Regions from separate parts of the Homo sapiens genome. Here regions 2 and 3 are each linked to region 1. Evidence: promoter capture Hi-C in human tissues and cell types (Jung and others, 2019). All regions are on one chromosome and are shown on one strand. The core of a region is centred on a gene start or on the middle of the fragment in contact, and the rest is flanking DNA. Distances in the headings are between cores, read along the strand shown.

Region 1 (4,416 bases), core at 1,464-3,963:
CAGACCAGGACAGGTACAGGATGGGGGCTGTTGTACACATACACAGCAACATGTTTGCTGGTAGCTTGGACTTTGTTTTGTTTCCGGTTTTTTTTTTGTTTTTTTTTTTGAGAGACTCTCCCTCTGTTGCCCAGGCTGGAGTGCAGTTGGCACAGTCTTGGCTCACTGCAACCTCCGCCTCCCAGATTCAAGCGAGTCTCCTGCCTCAGCCTCCTGAGTAACTGGGATTACAGGCATCTGCCACCACGCCTGGCTAATGTTTTGTATTTTTAGTAGAGACAGGGTTTCACCATGTTGGCCAGACTGGTCTCGAACTCCTGATCTCAGGTGATCCATCCGCTTTGCCCTCCTAAAGTGCTGGAATTACAGCATGAGCCACCACCACGCCTGGCTGCGGTGGCTTCAATTTTGCATAAGCATCTGAATATGTCATCCAGATGTACAAAGGCAGGGCAGGCTCTGAGCAGTCATTTCCCAGATACATGAATTCATCTTTCTGAGCCTCAGTTTCTACATCTGTAAAATGGGGATGATTCATACCTTCCGTGGTGGACTGCAAGAGAGAATCGGAGAATCCCACAGCCAGATCAGGGACAGGAGAGATCCCAGAAGGATCCTTGGAGGAAGACGAGGAGGAGGAGGAAGAGGATGTGGGCTGGGAGGTCTATGGAGTTGGGGGCCCCATGGCCATGCTGACCCACCCTCATTCTTTTTCCAGGAACTCCTTGAACAGAGCAAGTTTCCGAAAGGCAGACCTCTGAGCCCACAAGGACCAAAGCTGTACCTAGAGGAACCAGCACCCGGGCCTCAGCTGTCTGTGCTGCGAGGGGAGTCTGCCCTGGTGCCCACTGGGCTGTGGGGTGACCACACTGTACTTGGGGCTGGGCCCTCTGCCCCTGTGTCCCCATCTGTGTGCACTGATGCTTCCTCCCTTTTTTAATTTAAAATGGTTTTTATAAGCAACCTGTGCCATGTGGTGCGGTCACTAGGGGCTGGGTCACATGCTCATCACATGCTCACAGTCCACTGCCCCATATCCACACATCCCTGCATCATCAATGGGGACACCAAGAACATACTGGGTGCCAGGGACATCGTGGTGACAACAGGCAAAAATTCCTGCCCTTGTGGAGCTGATGTTCTAGTAGGGAAGGCAACACACAAATAATGTCACATGCTTACCTGCAATAACAATACCTGGTTTTTGTTTGTTTGTTTTTAACAGACGCTCTCACTCAGTCCCCCAGGCTGGAATGCAGTGTCACAGTCATAGCTCACTGCAGCCTCAAACTCCGGGGCTCAAGCCTCCTGAGTAGCAGAGATTATAGGCACATGCCACTGTGCCTGGCTTTTTTTTCTTTTTCTTTTTTTTTTTTTTAGACAGAGTTTCACTCTGTCACCCAGGCTGCAGTGCAGTGGTGCAATCTCGGCTCACGGCAACCTCCACCTCCCAGATTCAAGTTATTCTCATACCTCAGCCTCCCGAGTAGCTGGGATTACAGATGTGCACCACCATGCCAGGATAGTTTTTGTATTTTTAGTAGAGAAGGGGTTTCACCATGTTGGCCAGGCTGGTCTTGAACTCCTGACCTCAGATGATCCACCCACCTCGGACTCCCAAAGTGCTGGGATTACAGGCATGAGCCATTTCTCGGCCCCAGGTGGTTTTTTGTATTTTGTTTTTTGTAGAGATGGCGTCTTACCATATTGCCAAAGCTGGTCTCCAACTCCTTGGCTCAAATAATCCGCCCACCTTGGCCTCCCAAAGTGCTACGATTACAGGCATGAGCCACTGCGCCTGGCCTAATTTTTTTTCACTTAAAAATTTTTTTGCATAGACAGGGTCTTGCTATGTTGCCCAGGCTGGTCTCGAACTCCTGAGTTCAAGCAGTCCTCTTGCCTTGGCCTCCCTAAGCACTGAGATTACAGGTGTGAGCCACCTCGCCGGCTTAATAATATTTATTAAGCCCTTGCTGAGTGGCTGGCTGTGTACTAAAAGGGCTCCCAGAAAGATCTCTGCAAAAGTAGGCCACTCCATTTATGAGAGTTTTTAACCCGAAGGGCCTCCTTCCTGATGGTTAGGCCCCTTCCTAATGGTCAGTGAATCTTCTCAACGCTCCTATCAGGTAGCTAACATGATCATCTCCATTTTACAGATGAATAAACTGAGGCACAGAGCAGCAAAAGTTTGGTGGGTCTGGGATGGGAATGCAGGTCTGGCTGGCGCCGGCGCCCAGGACTCTGCAGCCTCCCTTCTCGCGCGGCGGTCACGCCACCGTGTGCCAGGACTGCGCTGGGCCGCTTCCAGCCCTGGGCCGCCTGGGGGAGGGGTGACCTCCCGCTGCCGCGCCCGCCCCGCGCGCCCTCCCCGAGCTGGGCCCCGGCCAGCTCCACCCCCTCCCGCCGCCGAGCCGTTCCGCCCCCCGCAGCGGCCCAGGGACAGCAGGCGGTGGGGGGGAGGCCGGCAGTGGGAGGACCCTGCCTCGGGGACTTAGGGAGGAAGGAAGGACGAGGCCGGACACCCCGGCGCGCACACACACCTGCTGTCCAGGTGAGATCCAGTCTCCAACCAGCGTCTCTCCATCCCCACCCCCCACCGCGGCCGGGGCGCCCGGGCGGCTGGAGGGGGCGGTGCCGGCTGGGGGGGCGGGACCAGCCGGAGGGGGCGTGGTGCGGGCGGAGCCACCTCCGAGGGCCGGGCGCCCAGGCTGCGGCGCGCGCGAAGACGCTCGGGCGGCGGGACCCAGGGAAGGCAGCGGCCGGAGCGCGCAAGGCGAGTGGGACCCGGGGCTGGGTAGGGGTTCAAGTCTGGTTCGGGGATCGAGTGTGCACCCCCTCCACACACACCTACTACCCTACCCCCCGCCTCCAACCCTGGGACACGACCTCGCTGGTCTCAACGAGCCGCTGCCTCCAACTCCACCTTCTGTGCCCAAACTTTCCAGACTTGGAGTGTCTGTCCCCGCGTCCCTGCCCCCTCCTCGTCTTTGACCCCATACCCCCATCGATTCCTCCCAGTACCCCCCATCGATTCCTCGTGCCCTGCCCGTTTCTCCTGTCTTGGCTCCCCTCTGCCCGCTCTCCCCTGTCTCTGTCCCACTTTCTGCCTCTGTTCCTCCCCGGCTCTGCCCTCTCCCCGCACTGTCCCCCCTCGCCCTCCTCCGCGGCCATGCCCCAGACGGCGGGAAGGCGGCCGGGCGTCCGGCCGGGCTGGGCCTGGGCTTGGCGGCTGGGCCGGCGTGGGGAGCGGCAGCTGTTTGCCATTAGCCCGGGATCCCACAGGCCCCGCCCCCTCTCTGCACGGGGCGGGGTCCTTCTCGCCTCCCCCCACCCCGAGTTTGGGGCGGGAAGACCCCCCCCCACCACCACCACCGACCTCCGCGATGTGCAGGCCGGTCTTGGGTGGTGGGTTGGGGAGACCCGCGCCCCTTCCCTGCGCTCCCTACCTGTCCCCTCTTATAGGCTCCAGTCTCTCCATCTCTGTCTTATCCTGTCACCCCTTCCCCATTCCCCAGGGGTCCCATGGCGAGAGAAGGGTCTCAGCCACAGACATCCATCTCCCCCACCACACCCCCTCGTCTCCTTTCTCTTCCCCTTACTCGGGACGTGCTGGTCCTCATCGAGGGCGGTGAGATGACTGAGTACCCTCAGACCTCAGTCTCCGTATCTGGGAAACGGGTAGAGATATCTGATGTGGAGTCTGAGGGTGGTGGCTTGGTGGGCAGTGGGGGGATCCACCAGGCTTAGGTTCATGTTCAGGCCCAGCCACTTCCCCATGGCCCCAGTGACCCCGAGGAAGCCACTGTACCTTTCTGTACCCTCTGCATCCCCTGTCTGTGAAACGGGGCGATAAGTGCCCATCTCATAGAATTGTCATGACAATTAAAAGAGTTGATGTTAGGCTGGGTGCAGTGGCTCATGCCTGTAATCCCAGCACTTTGGGAGGCCAAGGCGGGCGGATCACCTGAGGTCAGGAGTTCGAGACCAGCCTGACCAACATGGAGAAACACCATCTCTACTAAAAATACAGAATTAGCTAGGCGTGGTGGCAGGTGCCTGTAATCCCAGCTACTCAGGAGGCTGAGGCAGGAGAATCGCTTGAACCTGGGAGGCAGAGGTTGCCGTGAGCTGAGATCGCGCCATTGCACTCCAGCCTGGGCGACAAGAGCAAAACTCCGTCTCAGAAAAAAAAAAAAAAAAGAGTTGATGTTAGTATTACTGTTACTATACTATTTACCCAGCAGCACCCTCACTTCCCCCACCCCCAGCCCACCCCGCTCGGCTATTCCAATCCTGCTCCAATCCCGCTTGCTCCCTGCTTCTCCATCTCTCTTTGGTGGCCAGAAAATATTTTCAATCAACTTTCTGTTGCTCAGGGGTGAGCCTCCAGGCAAATGGAAAACGGAATTTCCTGCA
Region 2 (4,639 bases), core at 30-2,529, 280 kb after region 1:
CCTGAGCCTAAATGCCCCCTCTGCCTTAGCCTCACCTAATAATGTTCCACATGTATTGCATGTGTGCTGTGTGCTAAGTGTCTACATGCATTGACACTTTTGGCCCAAATCTCTGTGAGAGCGCTGTGCAGGGCAGAGGAGAGGGCTCAGAGAGGGGCTGTAGCTTCCTGAGGGCTGCACAGCTGCACAGCAATGGCAAGTGATCACTGCAGCAGTACCCTGGAGGCCCTACTCACCACCACAGGCTGCCGGAAATACTCATCCACCGCGGCACCTCGGAGGGCCGACAGGTCCACTCCATGGAAAGATGGCTGGTACCTGTGGACAGGCCCCACCCCCACAGCAAGGTCAGGGCTGCAGAAGAGGCAGGTGGGGTAGCCCTGCCTTCTCTCCCAGTCAGCCCTCATCTAGCCCAAGTCTTTCAGAAAAAGAGGAGTGCAGGCTCTCTGGGGAGCTGGGGCTGTCCCTGAGAAGGCAGGCTGTGGGGCCCAGGCGGGACACCCAGGGCACACTCACCAGAAGTTGGCCTTGGTGAACTGCTCCATGTAGAGCTGTTCATCCGTGAAGGGTGCAAGGTGGACGTCACCAATGGTAGGAAACATGTTTCCTGGGAGTGGGGCAGGGAGGGGTGCTGGCGTCAGGTGACACATCCCACACTGCCTGGCAGAGCTTCCAAAGGACCCCAAGACCCCCAACCCTGGGTGCTCCCAGCCTGTCATCCATTCGTTCCTGCACTCCTGTGACAGTGGCACCGAGCGCCTATTCTGATCAGTGTTTCATCACCACCACGGGTACCTGACCTGCACCAGCTCACGAATTCCACCTGAGACTGGGAGGCTGGTGGCTCATCTTTATGTCCTATTACTAGACCTGGCAGGTGTGAGGGACCTGCCAAAGACTCACGGGGAAGCAGGCAGTGCCCGGGATGTGGCCAGGCGCTGCCTCTCAGGCCCTGCCGTCTGTGCATGTGTGCAGCCGGGAAAGCATAGCAAAGTTGCTCTGGACAGAGGGAGGGTGGTGGGCCCCGGGCTACCCCAACGCCGCTGGGGACCTCAGTTGAGGCCAAGAGCCAGGTGGGGGAAGCCAAATCCACACCACAGGGACTGCCTAGGTTCTGGCACAGGCACCCAGCCGGCAGGATGGGCCACTTGGCCTGCCTGGTCTGGGCACACAGACTGAGGGAAGGGCAGGGCCTCCCTCTGTGACTCAAGGGTAGACGCATGAGTCAGGGCCAGTGGCAGGGAGGATCAGGGCCCCGCAGCCCCGCCTGCCCCAAGGAGCACCTGGCCTCCAGATGTGGGCCCCCCAGCCTTGCAAGCTGGGGGAGGAGATCCTGAGGTATCAGTGGGACTCTGCCTCCTCCTTACGCCACCAGGCTGTACCCGAGGCGAGAGCTGCAGGGCTGCAGCTGCTGGAACGGGGAGGGAGATGCACATGCTGCGGCTTCTGCCCTGGGGGACCTGGGGGCACCATGGGAAGTGACCCAGCCTGGAAGGAACCTCTGGCTCCTGCTGACCAGAAGACATGTGACTGGGAGAGGGGAGGGCTGCCTTTAACCCCTGGAAGAGCTTCCTGAGCTGGACAGGAGTCCTCCTTGCACAGGCCTGGCCTCCCCCCTCCCTGCAAGCTGGCTGCTGGGACGTCGGGGGCACATGCAGCTGCCCACAGAGCCTGACTGCCATCTGGCTTCATGTCCCATCGGGAGGGGCCCTCTCTGCTGGGGCTGTCCCCACCCCCATCCCCACCATCAGGGCAGAAGGGGAGGAGAGTGGGGCCCACAGCCCCTGGAGCAGCCTTGCTTCCCATACTCACACCCAAGACATGAGACACAGCTGTGGGACGCCACCTCCCACCTCCAGGAGCACAGCCAGCCAGGACCCTAGGGCCTGGATCCAGGGCGGGCCAGAGATGAGAGTGGAAGCTTCCCCCCTGCCCCTGCCTGCACAAGCCCCACCAGCCTGCTGCTGCCCACGCTCCATCCCATGGCTGCTACCCTGGCTGGGGACCTGTACCCTGCCACACGCACACACAGCTGCTTGCCTGTACAGAAATGCTCAGACGCTCACATACCTAGCATGAGAAGAGCCACAGGCACATGCCTCAGGCGTCAGGGCTGCACAGACCCCAAGACAGATGGGCAAATAGAAACAGTCACCCAGGCCAGGCACAGTGGCTCATGCCTATAATCCCAACACTTTGGGAGGCTGAGGCGGGTAGATCACCTGAGGTCAGGAGTTCGTGACCAGCCTGACCAACACGGTGAAACCCCATCTCTACTAAAAATACAAAACTTAGCTGGGCGTGGTGGTGCACACCTGTAATCCCAGCTACTCAGGAGGCTGAAGCACAAAAATTGCTTGAACTGGGGAGGTGCAGGTTGCAGTGAGCCGAGATCGCACCACTGCACTCCAGCCTTGGCAACAAGAGTGAAACTCTGTCTCAAAAAAAGAAACAGTCACCCAGTGACCAGAGGCCATACCCAGAGGCACGGATGGGAAGTGACAGATGGGCTTGCCAGACAGCTACCTCACCTCCTCACACACGTACACTCGCACCCACACCCCTGCATTTGCACACATGCTCGCCCACCCCACCTCCTGGACTGTGAGGAGAGCAGGGCTTGTTGGGGAACTGCTGACCACAGAACCTGTCCCAATCCCCACTCCCAGCCAGAGGCTGTCCCGCAGGAGCAGGACATGGGACGGCAGAGGTGCCAGGAGATCCTGTGTACCCTGTCTGGGCGAGTGGGCAGCTGGGTGTCTGGCCGTGTTTGGGGCCCAGGGCTCCAAAAGCCACAGCTGGCTGGAGTGGGGTTGGGGTGGGAGCGGGGGAAAAGCCCAGGCTTCCCTACACCCCGGGCCACCGACAGTAAGCAGGGAGCTGAAGCACTGATGGCCTGGCTCAGCGGCAGCCAGGGCCTCCACCGAGGGGCCTGGCCTGTGTACCCCCCAGTGCTCACCGCTGGGCTTCAGGTACTTCTTGGCGTGGAGGTAGCTCTCCAGCATGCGCTCGTTGAAGAGCATGTAGCCCATGGGCTCCGAGATGATGATGTCCACCTGCTCGGGGAGTGACACCTCCTCCACCTTGCCCGGGATGACCACGATGCGGTCCGTCAGGTTGTTACTCTTCACCAAGACCTGCAGGCGGGCAGGGCCATGTGGGCTTCCCTGCGTCTTCCTGCCATGGGGCCCTCCCTAGACCTGCTCTCAAGGGACAGCCTCCATCCACACATGGGCATTGGGTGCCCCTCTGCCTGCTTCGCTGGCGCCCCAACCATGGCTGCGATTGGCCATAGCCTGTTAAGAGCTCACTGTGGGCCGGGCACGGTGCCTCATGCCTGTAATCCCAGCACTTTGGGAGGCCGAGGCAGGCGGACTGCTTGACCTCATAAGTTGGGAGACTAGCCTGACCAACATGGAGAAACCCTGTCTCTACTAAAAATACCAAAAAAAAAAAACTATTTTTTTTTTCTTTGAGACAGATTCTCACTCTGTTGCCCAGGCTGGAGGTGGTAGTGGCGCCATCTCGGCTCACTGCAACCTCTGCCTCCCGGGTTCTAGCGATTCTCCCACCTCAGCCTCCCGAGTAGCTGGGACTACAGGCACCCACCACCACGCCTGGCTAATGGGGTTTTGCCACGTTGGTCAGGCTGGTCTCGAACTCTTGACCTCAGGTGATCCGCCCACCTAAGCCTCCCAAAGTGCTGGGATTACAGGTGTGAGCCACCATGCCTGGCCTAAAAATACAAAAATTAGCCAGTTGCAGTGGTGGATCCCAGCTATTCAGGAGCCTGAGACAGGAGAATCACTTGAACCCGGGAGGTGGAGGTTGCAATGAGCCAGGATCGCACCACTGCACTCAAGCCTGAGCAACAGAGTGAGACCCCCCCCAAAAAAAAAGAGAGTTCACTGTGACCCCGGCCCTGCCTCAGGGCCGTCCCCTGCTGCGGCCTCCTAGGTCCCCCACCCTGCGTCGACAACTGCTGGTGGCTGCAAAGAGGGGGACGAGCAGACATCACAACAGCCACCAAAGCTAAAGCTGGATGCACCCCCAACCCAGCGATTCCAGGGCTAGGGTGTGTCCTACAGACACAACCGCATGTGGGAGAGGGGCTCAGGACAGCAGCGTTGGCCACGTGAAGACCTGGAAGGAGTCTGAGTGTCGCTGCGGACACAATGCAGCTAAAGCAACAGCGGCACGGCTGGGCACAGGGGTGCTCTGCGGCGGCAAGACAGAACAAAGATGGCCCCTCCACGACCCCGGCGACCCCAGATCCATGGGAGAGGCAGAGCAGGGAATGGAGGGTGCAGCCTCCACTGGTGCGAGAGGACGCTCACGGAATAGCTCTGCTCAGACTTTGTGGCCGTAGCTCCTCTCTCATGATGGGGCTGGGGGTGGGAGCTGGGGTGGGGAAGGAGAGCACGCTGTCTGCTCTTTTTTAGCTTTTATGTTTTGAACTTTGTGAATGAAGGTTTCAGTGCAAAAAAAAAAAAAAGAAAACAGGGAAATGACATGTGGCCCTGACTACCGGCCATGAGAGAAAATCATCTCAGGCCCTGAAGCCCCTCCCTGAAATGACTGTCTTGGGGACAATAAAGAGACCAAAGCACAGAAGTAATGTCCCCAGGCCCCTGGGGGT
Region 3 (4,412 bases), core at 439-2,938, 310 kb after region 1:
GCAGTAAGCGCTGAGAGGAGGGAAAGCACGGAAGCTGATGCATGCGGACCAGGCCCAATTCAGATTCCAGGCAGACTCGGGAGGAGGCGACACCTGAGCCAGGCCCCACTGCCCTGGCAGAGGTGACCTTGTTTCCAAACTGGGAACCAGAAGCTTCCCCCCATTCCTGTGTGGCTTGGCACCCATGTGCCCAAGAGGCGGCAGAGATGACCCTAGGGTCACCCAGCAGGGAGATGGCTGAAAGGATGGGCTTTGGCATCAAGGAGGACTTAGGTTTATCAAGGAGGGACTGGGTTCAGGGCCGAACCCACTGTTCTCCAGCCCTGGCCTTGGCTTCCTCATCTGTTCAACCACCACCCTGACACATCCCAAAGGGTGAGGTGACATAACCCACGTGGAGGGCCTGACAGCCCGGCCCCAGGGCACCATCCTGGAACTTCACTAGGTCAGAGCCCACATGCAGCAGAGTCTGGCAGGGCTTGGATCCCCCGAACTAGCACCTGCCTTCACCCCTGGCCTCAGGAGCCCCATCTATAAAATGGGCACAATGACAGGGGGCGGTGGCTCACGCCTGTAATCTCAGCCCTTTGGGAGGCCAAGGCAGGCGGGTCACAAGGTCAGGAGATCGAGACCATCCTGGCTAACACGGTGAAAACCTATCTCTACTAAAAATAAAAAAAATTAGCCGGGCGTGGTAGCGGGTGCCTGTAGTCCCAGCTACTCAGGAGGCTGAGGCAGGAGAATCACTTGAAGCCAGGAGGTGGAGGTTGCAGTGAGCCGAGATCGCACCACTGCACTCCAACCTGGGGGAGAGAGTAAGACTCTGTCTCAAAATGAAATAAAATAGGCACAGTGGGGGCAGTGGCTCACGCCTGTAATCCCAGCACTATGGGAGGCCGAAGCAGGTGGATCATGTGAGGTCAGGAGCTCGAGACCAGCCTGGCCAACATGGTGAAACCCCGTCTCTACTCAAAATATAAAATTAGCCAGGCATGGTGGTACATGCCTGTAATCCCAGCAACTCGGGAGGCTAAGGCAGGAGAATCACTTGAACCTGGGAGGCAGAGGTTGCATTCCACTCCAACCTGGGCAAAAAGAGCAAAGCTCCATCTGAAAAAAATAAAAATAAAAATAAATAAATAAAATGGGCAGGGCCGGGAGTGTTGGCTCACGCCTGTAATCCCACCACTTTGGGAGGCTGAGGCGGGTGGATCACCTGAGGTCAGGAGTTTGAGACCAGCCTGGCCAACATGGTGAAACCCCATCTTTACCGAAAAATACAAAAAATTAGCCAGACATGGTGGCGGGCACCTGTAATCCCAGCTACTCAAGAGGCTGAGGCAGCAGAATCACTTCAACCCAGGAGGCAGAGGTTGCAGTGAGCAGAAATCGTGCCATAGCACTCCAGCCTGGGCAACAAGAGCAAAACCCTGCCTCAAAAAATAAAATAATATAAATAAAATAGGCACAAAATGGGGATGAAAACCCCTCCCTGCAGTGAGGATTCCTAGGTAATGGAGGGAGCTGGAGGTGTTAAGTACTTCATAAACAAGAGCAGCTGCTGTTACCATCATCAGCAACAGATCAATGCCAGCCTCGGAAGAGAATCCCAAACCCCAGAACCCTAACCCGGCCTGGCCTCCCTCTCCTGCCGTAACCTGAGTCGGATCCTCCGATGTCGTCCTCGGAGAAGCTCTGGAGCAGCTGTTCCACTGTGCTGCCCAGCCCCGGGTATCTGAGGACCATGAGGTCACCCTGGGCTCCTCTGGCGCAGCCCTGGCCTCTGGGCGAATCCCAACCCCACTCCAGCACCGGAGCTGGGTGTCCAGGAGCCCTGCAGCCATGGCCCTGAACGGGCACTTCCCCAGCACATCAGAACTATGTCTGAGCAACTGATCAAAAACTTCCGGCCCAGAAATCCCTTTGCAGGGCCTTATGTATGCTACAAGCTCTACTTGCAGAGATACACCTGGATCTGAATGCCCCCAAAGCAGAAAACCTAAATATCCATCAATTAATCAAAGAATGAATAAATGAAGATGTGGCAAATTAAAAGAGATCAATTTCCATCGGTACACACTGACATGTTAAATGATCGAGCCACAACGTAAGGCACAGAGTGGTGTAAAACCTACGCACCACAGGTGTACAGATGGGCGGGGAAGGGACAGAGGGAGGAGGGGCAGTGCACACTGCATTCATGGGGCTTGTCTGGAAACACAATAAAGTGACTTCAGTGCTGCCTCCGGGAAGCAAGTCATACTTTTCAATCCGCACCCTCCTTTGCCATTGTGTGAACGTGCATAACTTGAAGCCCAGCAGGTTGGAGGAGAGATTTATGCGTGCGCGCTTGTATGTGCCTGAGAAACCACAGGTCACGGGCAGTGCGGAGAGAAGGAGAGACTGACTTTTCATGTTACACCCTCCTGAGTGGCTTGAATTTCTCCCTTGTACATGAAAGATAGCCAGACAAAAGGCAATGGCGAAGGCTGGGGGCGGGAGGGCCGGCGTCTACGCAAGTTATCTGGGCCCCTCCCTAGAGTGGGCAGGCCGGACTGGGGACCACCCCCCCAACATCCTTTTGGACCCTGCTGGCTGGGGGAGGGGAGTGGGAACAGGCCCTGAGCCTCTTCTGTGACCCAGCTGGAGGCTGGCGGACAGCCCTGCTTTCCTCAGCTTGGAATCTCCCAGAACAAGCCCTGCACCCACCCCACGGCCCTCAGTGGGTGTGATGGACGTGGGGCAGTCAGCCCAAGGGCATCGGGGCTCCCTGACCTGCATTCCAGCAAGGGAGGCCTCCCAAACGAGCCAGGTGCAGTAAGATCCAGGTTTGAACCTGAGCTCTGCCACCTGCAAGCAAGGGACCATCACCTCCCGACACCTCAGCTTTAGTGTCTAGAAAAATAAAATAACACATGGTTCACTGTGTAGCCATGAGGACGAACCCACCCATGCCCGGCCCAAGACCCACGGGCACACAGTAGTGTGGCATTGGCACAAAACACCAGTCTTGGTTCCTGTGTCCCCACAGTGCTCCGGCTCAAGGCAAAGGGTCGAGAGAAGGAGCCACCGAGAGAGTTCTGGACACAAGGCCATATTGGGCCCAGAACAAGTGTCTGGCCCTGTCCCCCAGGTGGCCACCCCTGGGACCCAACCCATCTGGCACGTGGCTGACAGAGAATCAGCTTCACACACTGCTTGGGAACACTGACTCAGTTTTGGTCTCCCTCTGTCACCCAGGCTGGAGTGCAATGGCCCGCCCAGTCATAGCACACTGCAGCCTCGACCTCCTGTGCTCAAGAAGCAATCCTCCCACCTCCGCCTCCTAAGGAGCTGGGACTTCAGGAAGGATAGAGCTATACCAAGAAAAAAAAAAAAAAAAAAAAAAAAATATATATATATATATATATATGTGTGTGTGTATATGTGTGTGTGTATATGCATGTGTATATATGTGTCTATATATTCATGTGTATATATGTGTGTGTATATATGTGTGTATATATGTATATACGTATACACATATATACGTATATACATATACATATATATATGTAAATAAAACAAAGTAGCTGGGACCACAGGTATGTACCACCACACAAAACTAATTTTTAGGCTAGGCGCGGTGGGGTGGCTCACACCTGTAATCCCAGCACTTTGGGAGGCCGAGGCAGGTGGATCACCCGAGGTCAGGAGTTTGAAACCAGTCTGGCCAACATGGTAAAACCCCATCTCTACTAAAAATACAAAAATTAGCCAGGTGTAGTGGTGGGCGCCTGTAATCCCAGCTACTTGGGAGGCTAAGACAGGAGAATCACTTGAACCCGGGAGGCGGAGGTTGCAGTGAGCCAAGATCGCGCCACTGCACTCCAGCCTGGACAACAAGAGCGAAACTCTGTCTCAAAAAAAAAAAAAAACAAACAAAACAAAAAACAAAAAAACCACCTAATTTTTATATTTTTTGTAGAGACAGGGTCTCCCTATGTTGCCCAGGCTGGTCTCAAACTCCTGGGCTCAAGCAATCCACCTGCCTCAGCCACCTGAGTACCTGGGACCCCAGGCTTGCATGCACCACCATGGAAGGCTAATTTTTTATTTTTCTGTAGAGATGGGGTCTTGCTATGTTGCCCACGCTGGTCTCAAACTCCCAGCCTTAGGCGATCCTCCCGCCTCAACATTTACATCCCACCTGTAAAGTTTAAGCTTTACAGGTTACAGGTTAGCTTTTCAGGCCATTTATGGCCCCTCCAAAAGCCGACCACCAGAGTTAGTATAAAGCTGTTCCCTGGGGAGGGGATTGGATGGGGGGCTTCATTCCATGGGCAAGGTTTCCTTAAAATGAGGGTGGGAAGTGCACAGGTGTTGGCTGCATTCGTCTTCATTCCTTCAAAAATATTTCATGAGAAAAAACA

Evidence for each region. The method cuts DNA at HindIII sites, captures the fragments that hold promoters and counts their contacts. A contact is called where the count stands out against the background at its distance.
Region 2: a fragment that was not itself captured here is called in contact with the fragment with the promoter of KANK2 in region 1 in 2 of the 25 tissues and cell types used here (H1 embryonic stem cells and lymphoblastoid cells).
Region 3: a contact is called between a fragment that was not itself captured here and the fragment with the promoter of KANK2 in region 1, in 2 of the 25 tissues and cell types used here (dorsolateral prefrontal cortex and lymphoblastoid cells).

Annotation. Positions count from the first base shown.
Region 1 is chr19:11,195,842-11,200,257 of GRCh38, reverse strand. It overlaps KANK2 (KN motif and ankyrin repeat domains 2), which reads left to right and starts at 2,713. Exons shown (of 13, transcript NM_001136191.3): 1 at 2,713-2,773. It overlaps DOCK6 (dedicator of cytokinesis 6), which reads left to right. Exons shown (of 48, transcript NM_020812.4): 48 at 719-963. The coding sequence ends at 761. RefSeq lists a silencer at 2,230-2,849. The HindIII fragment of the contact is 26,033 bases long and covers 1-4,416 here.
Region 2 is chr19:10,912,375-10,917,013 of GRCh38, reverse strand. It overlaps CARM1 (coactivator associated arginine methyltransferase 1), which reads right to left. Exons shown (of 16, transcript NM_199141.2): 6 at 2,960-3,137; 7 at 517-607; 8 at 237-318. Among named protein-coding and RNA genes, the nearest start is that of YIPF2, 14 kb to the left of the region's middle. The HindIII fragment of the contact is 8,993 bases long and covers 1-4,639 here.
Region 3 is chr19:10,889,775-10,894,186 of GRCh38, reverse strand. All of the region lies in intron 1 of CARM1 (coactivator associated arginine methyltransferase 1), which reads right to left. Among named protein-coding and RNA genes, the nearest start is that of CARM1, 20 kb to the right of the region's middle. RefSeq lists an enhancer at 1-180. The HindIII fragment of the contact is 5,985 bases long and covers 1-4,412 here.